Regions from separate parts of the Homo sapiens genome. Here region 2 is linked to region 1. Evidence: promoter capture Hi-C in 16 types of primary human blood cells and fetal thymus (Javierre and others, 2016). All regions are on one chromosome and are shown on one strand. The core of a region is centred on a gene start or on the middle of the fragment in contact, and the rest is flanking DNA. Distances in the headings are between cores, read along the strand shown.

Region 1 (3,281 bases), core at 339-2,838:
GGATATTTTATTTCTTCCAAAAAAAATACAATGTTTCTATCTGTGTAAGCAGGACAGAGTGAACAAAATCTTGGGAATGATTCAAAAAGTCTTGGAAAAATAGCAAATACACCAGGTAGAAAGATAGCCCAGTGGCTGATAAGAATTGTTGGTTATCCCAATAACCAATTAAAAAGAGCTTCTTCCAGTGTGTTCAATGCTTCCTCTAAAGAGCAATGCTAACTATACAGACGCAATCCTTTATCTCCTAGTAAAGGAAATCTCTATTATTATTATTATTTTTTTTTTTTGAGACAGAGGCTGGAGTGCAATGGCGCGATCTCGGCTCACTGCAACCTCCGCCTCCCAGGTTCAAGCAATTCTCCTGACTGAGCCTCCCAAGTAGCTGGGATTACAGGCACGCACCACCATGCCCGGCTTATTTTGTATTTTTAGTAGAGACAGGGTTTCTCCATGTAGGTCAGGCTGGTCTCGAACTCCCGACCTCAGGTGATCCTCCTGCCTCGGCCTCCCAAAGTGCTGGGATTACAGGCGTGAGCCACCGCGCCTGGCGGAAATCTTTATTATTTTTTAAAAACCTACTAATCATCATAAAGCACTATAAAGAAATATACATACACATTTTTTTCCATTTAAAAAAAAATTTAGAGGTGGGATCTTGCTATGTTGCCTAGGCTGCAGTGTAGTGGCTATTCACAGGCATGCTCATACCACACCTCAGCCTCAAACTCCTGACCTCAAGCAATCCTCCTGCCTCAGCCTCCCAAGAAGCCGGGACTACAGGTGCACCTGGCATATATATTAATTTAATAATGCCCACAGACCAGTTTGGTGGGGTACTGCCAGGAAAATAAAACTTAAAGAAATCCTAATTACTTGGAAAGCCATTAAGTCTCTATACTCAAAATATCAAATCTCTATGACCTACAAGGACTTCAAGAGTAACATGACATAGGTAAAAGCCTTTAGACTAGGGGTTCAAGTTTGGAGTCCCTTGGGCTATACTGCCAGGTCCCATGTACCAGCTGAGTATCAATCAGTTGACAACCCAGGGCCTGAAACCTTGGCTTGTCTGAGACAGTATTCTTTTTCTTTTTGGCCTAATCAAATTACTAAAATCCTAAAGTAGTATAAAAATGATAGAAATACAAAAAACCTGAGAAAGTCTAAAAGAAAACAAATATTCATCTAAAGACTTGGCATTTCTACAAGTTGTGCTATAGGATATTAGTACGTTTTGTGATCATATTTGCGTACTTATCTGCTGTAAAGAGGTTTGAAAAGCAGATGTATTAAATTTGGAAATGTCTTAGTCCCTAGAAGCAGAGACTGATTTATTACAAGTGATTTGTTGGGGGTATGATCTCAGAAAGGAAGTGAAGGAAGGAGGATAGTGCAGAGACACGCAAAGCAAAGCAAGGATGTGCCCTTGACTGGAGACTAGCTTTAGTCCCAACACAGGAAAACACTGGAGCACATCCTGCATTGGAGTCAGAGCCACCCTGAGGTAATGGGCTGGGCTTTTGTACCACATGATAATGGGCTGTGGGCTACTAGGGTAGGAGGACACCTCCCAGGCACTAGGACTCCGATTTAGCTGAGGACAATGTTGCAGAGAAAGGGCAGCTGAGGGCCACCAGCAGCTGACATTCACAACAAGTGGGGCAAACAGGTACACCGGCCTCGTGAAGGGAATGTCAGCCAGGACTCAACCCCAACCACTAAAAGGACAATGATGAAATGCTCAAACTGACTGTCTAATGGGTAAGTTTACTAATTTAAGGCATTATAAAAATGACAAGTTGTGATTAGGATTCTACATGCATATGAGATTTGAATGACTAGAAGAAATCATCTCAAAAGGTTAAAGAGCATCCTGTAGGGTTAGTGTGCTGGAAGAATAGAAAGATCACAGTGTAGCTGAAAACAATATGATATCAGAAACACAGGCTGGAAGCAGATCATGCAGGCACTTTTGAGCCAGGTTATTAAGTTTCCGTTTTACTCTAAGTATAAATGAGAAGCCATAGAAGGATTTTTAGGAAAGGATAATACATTATAATTTACGTTTTCTGAAGATAATTAGCTTAGAGGCTGTTCTCATTTAAATATATATGAACGCAGCACACATGAACACAGCACAATTTATTCATCCAACTACTGGTCCTACCATTCGCAGATCTGGATCCAATACGGTATGATTGCAGGAGAGAAGATCTTTCACCTCTTGAGGAAAATTACTTAGGTACTCTGGGTAGCAGTGACTAATCTGTAACAAAGCAAAGGCTCTTCTGAAGTTGCTCTCTTTCTCTCCTATAATTCAGATGCATACATTTAGGATGTTCTGCAAAACGAGAGTAAAAGGCTATGTTTCATAGAAGTAGATGGTTCCAAACAACCTTCTTTTCCTTCTACATGTTAATTTCTCCAACATTTATCATGGTTTCTCTAGTCTTAGTAATATTTATGGCATGATTTAGTACCTGCTTTTATGATGAATTTGAAGAAAAAAAATAGTCTTAAAGTTTTGTCCTGGTTAGTTATGCAAAAAGATCTAGTGACATTCTCTAACTCATGATAGGGAGAAAATAAAATTTGCAAAAAGGGAAAGTTAGAAAAATATTTTAATTAAGTTCCCATTCCAGAGTGGAATAAGGTTGAGTATTAGTGAAAAAACATTCAGCAAACTGTGTGTTAATACTGGTCTTTATTTAAGCAATTATATTCTTACCTGTGCCATAAACATCACCAGCTCTGCTAGTTCTTTGCTGGGTTTATTTGGTTGCAATTTGAAAATCTCCACATTGGATTTGTAGTGATTATACTGCTGTAGAAACTGCAGAAAAATAAAATTTAAGTTTGTCACATTGTATTACATGACTTTCTCAGTACAGACATTCAGTAGAGAAATTCTTAGTAGAAACTGTTGACGATCACATGGAGAAAAAGATAATGCAAAAGTATATAAAAACACTCCTTTTGCCTTATCTGCATTCTTCAAAGTGCGCTTTTTAAAGACCTGAGCACATCACAGATAATCTAAAGAACTTTTCCTTGGAATTATCACTACAAGTTTAGGCAGCATGGTGTAAGAACAGAGAAGCATGAATCCCAAATTCAGATTGTAGCCCTGTTCTGCCAGTTACTATCTAAATGATCCCGACTGCTGGGTGTAGTGGCTCACACTTGTAATCCCAGCACTTTGGGAGGCCAAAGTGGGAGGATCACTTGAGCCCAGGAGTTCGAGACCAAACTGGGTAACACAGGGAGACCTTGTCTCT
Region 2 (3,281 bases), core at 532-3,031, 82 kb after region 1:
TTGATTCTCTTTTAGACTCTCAGAAAGTAACTTAGCCCTGCCAACACTTTGATTTTAGCCTACAGAGATCTATGTTAGGCTTCTGATCTAGGAACTTTAAGATAAGAAATGTGTATTATTTTAAGCCACTAAGTCATGATAGTTTGCACAGCAACAGTAACAAACTATTGCAGCTAATGACTCTCAAATTTAAATGACTATCTCAGATCTTTCTCTGAACTAGTCAGTTGCCTATTGGATAGCTTCTCTACAGTATCTGGCTGGAACCTCAAACTCATTACATTGAGATAAAACTCTTTTCCCTAAAACCTGCTCATATTTTTTATCTTGATGTTGCTCCTAACCATTCAGACTCCTTAGCCAGAAATCTGGGGGTCAGTTTAAACTCCTTTTCTCAAAATACACTATTTCTCTACACATCCCTATGCTATATAATTGATACCAAATCATTTTGATTTGGGGTTTATTACCACTGATTTAGGTCAAGCTCCCACCACTTCTCACTTGGATTTCTCAGGTAATCTCCCAACACATCTTCCTGCCTCTTGTTAAAATGTCTTGGTAATTTATTCTTCTGTTCTATGAAAGTGACCTTTTCAATCAGATTATGTTTCTCCTCTACTTCATGGTTTCCCATTGCCATTTCAGTCAAGTTCCAATTTCTAAGCATTACACACAAGGCGCTCTTTATGATCTGATTCCTCTTTCCTCCCCAACTTTTTAACTCTTTGTGTTCCATAAAACATATCATGCTGTCCAGCTGTATTAAATGGCTTGCATTTTCTTGAACATGTGCTATGTATGCCATCAGTGCCTTGTACATACTTTTTTATCTGACTGGAAGGCCCTCCTTTCTTTGTTTCCCTAACTCCTACTTCTTTAGTCTTCAACTGAATTGTCACTTTAGTTAGGGGCTCAGTAAATGTTGGTTTAAAGAGTAAATGAGAAGAATGCCAAAGAATAAGAATTGTGAACCACTGAAGTGGATTTTTACACGAATTTCTAGAGTCCCTTTCCCTAAAGGACAATTTTAGATGGCAATGTTTCTGGAATAGTTTGAGGGTAGCCTTTTGTTAGTTTTATGTAAATGCTAAGAAGAGAGCATTTGAGTTTGGTATTTGGAGTAGGAATAGACAGGAACTCACTAAAGAGTTACTTCAGAAGAGAAAGTCATTATGGATGATGGTCTCGTATAAGAAAGCTACCAGACCTACTCATGTAATCATCCACTGTTCTTATCTGCAAGAGGGATTACCCCTTTTAGTTTTGCTTCCTATTTTTTAAAAGCTAAGATATCCTGTTCCAGAGAGAGTAAGCTTACATTAAAAAGCATTAAGTATCTTTAGTTTTCTTTTAAATTTGACTTATGTTCTAATGATTGTTACTTCATGGGGGTTTCCAACCTTGGGAAAAAAGTTAATAACTATTTTTTTAGGTTTATTATGAGAACTATACAGTTTAGTCAATATAAAATATACAGTGCCTTGTGTGTAATTAAGTAGTTAATAAAGGCTAGCTATTAGTTGTTATAAATTATCGTTATTGCTAAGCATTTAAAAATGATCCACCATTTTGCAGAGATTTAAACATCTCAGAGCATCTCATCCTTATGTGAAAGAAAAATAAATCTTTTTTTTTTTTTTTTTTTGAGACAGAGTCTCGCTCTGTTGCCCAGACTGGAGTGCAGTGGTGGGATCTCGGCTCACGGCAAGCTCCGCCTCTCGGGTTCACGCCATTCTTCTGCCTCAGCCTCCCGAGTAGCTGGGACTACAGGTGCCTGCCACCATGCCTGGCTAATTTTTTGTATTTTTAGTAGAGATGGGGTTTCATTGTGTTAGCCAGGATGGTCTTGATCTCCTGACCTCGTGATCCGCCCACCTCAGCCTCCCAAAGTGCTGGGATTACAAGTGTGAGCCACCGAGCCCGGCCCCAAGTCACATTTCAAATGCTCAGTAGCTACATGTGGTGGCTAGTGGCCATTGAACAATACACTTCTAGCTATTCTCTCTGTAAGGAATGCTTTCCTACAGCTAATCACTTGTTTAAGTCCCTTACCTCCTTCAGGTTTTTGCTAAATTTCACTCTCTCAGTGAGGCCTACCTTGACCACTCTATTTAATACTATAGTGTGCCCCAACTCCCCACACTTCACACTTCTTCATTCTTTATCTCTTTCACTGCGTAATTACTAATTTATTATTTTCATTGTTTATTGCCTGCCTTCTTTTTCTCTACTACTTCATGGACGGAAGCTTCCTGGAGGCAGGGATTTTTATTTTGTTCACTGACAACATCCCAACACCTAGAATAGTGCTTGGCCTATAGTAGGTGCTCAGTAAACATTTGTAGATTAAATGTAATGAAGGAATGAGTCATTGCAAAAACTTGTTACAATTATAAATAAGCATATACTAGATTCAAGACATAATTCAGGAAGAGTTAAAAGCATTGCTGACCAAATCTCTCTTAACTAGGTCTTGAATATATTCTCTGTACCTTATACCATTTTAAGCTGGGAGTAATGGGGAGAGAAATGAGGAGTTTAAAATGAGATTAAAAGAAGCTTATAATCTGTAGTTAGGAAGACAAGATTCACAAAAAGAAACTAGGAAAAAATCCTGAATTTTGTTGAAAAAATTAGAAAATGGACTTACAATAAGGTCTCTCCGGTTGTGCCATATATATTCCTTTGATGAGAATTTCCCAATAGGTATTTAAGTAGTCATGTATTTATATATCATTATTTGACAGAGACTCGGAGAACATAAAAACAAGAAAGCTAAAAGTAATATAAAGCCTGCACTTGAAAATTAGTTTAAAACAATGATAGTGAAAAATAGAATAATTTTGGCACTAAACATTGAATTTATACAAATCTTTTAGAGTTTCATGTATTATACAAAGTTCTGAGGAAAAATTATTTTGAACCTAGAATTATATACTAGCCAACTGTTCATCAGATTCACATTTCAAAAATGAAAGCACTGAAAATGTTTATCTTCCATGCATCCTTTTTAAGGAAATAATTTCAGAATATATTCCTACAAAACAAAGATAAATATGAAGCAAAAAGCTGTAGATGCAGTAGCATGAGACAAAAAATAAATTAAAAAAATAAAACCACTGTAGAGTACAAGAAATGGAAAAAGTACCCAGGGATTCAATTGAAAGATTTTCTAGTCTCCTAGTTGTTGGCCTGGAGAGCAGTTTGTCCAGGTTAGAACTGGTCTTCAAGAATAAGAACAAAATGGATTCCAAGCAATAGAATTGGAAATAGAAGCA

What was found. The method cuts DNA at HindIII sites, captures the fragments that hold promoters and counts their contacts. A CHiCAGO score of 5 or more calls a contact.
Region 2: a contact is called between a fragment that was not itself captured here and the fragment with the promoter of SDAD1-AS1 in region 1, in 8 of 17 cell types (naive B cells, total B cells, M0 macrophages and 5 more). The highest score is 10.3, in naive B cells.

Annotation. Positions count from the first base shown.
Region 1 is chr4:75,979,202-75,982,482 of GRCh38, forward strand. SDAD1-AS1 (SDAD1 antisense RNA 1) reads left to right here and starts at 1,589. Exons shown (of 3, transcript NR_125906.1): 1 at 1,589-1,764. SDAD1 (SDA1 domain containing 1) reads right to left here. Exons shown (of 22, transcript NM_018115.4): 2 at 2,732-2,836; 3 at 2,171-2,269. The HindIII fragment of the contact is 11,776 bases long and covers 1-3,281 here.
Region 2 is chr4:76,060,931-76,064,211 of GRCh38, forward strand. It overlaps a transcript of ART3 not described here. Among named protein-coding and RNA genes, the nearest start is that of ART3, 12 kb to the right of the region's middle. The HindIII fragment of the contact is 935 bases long and covers 1,315-2,249 here.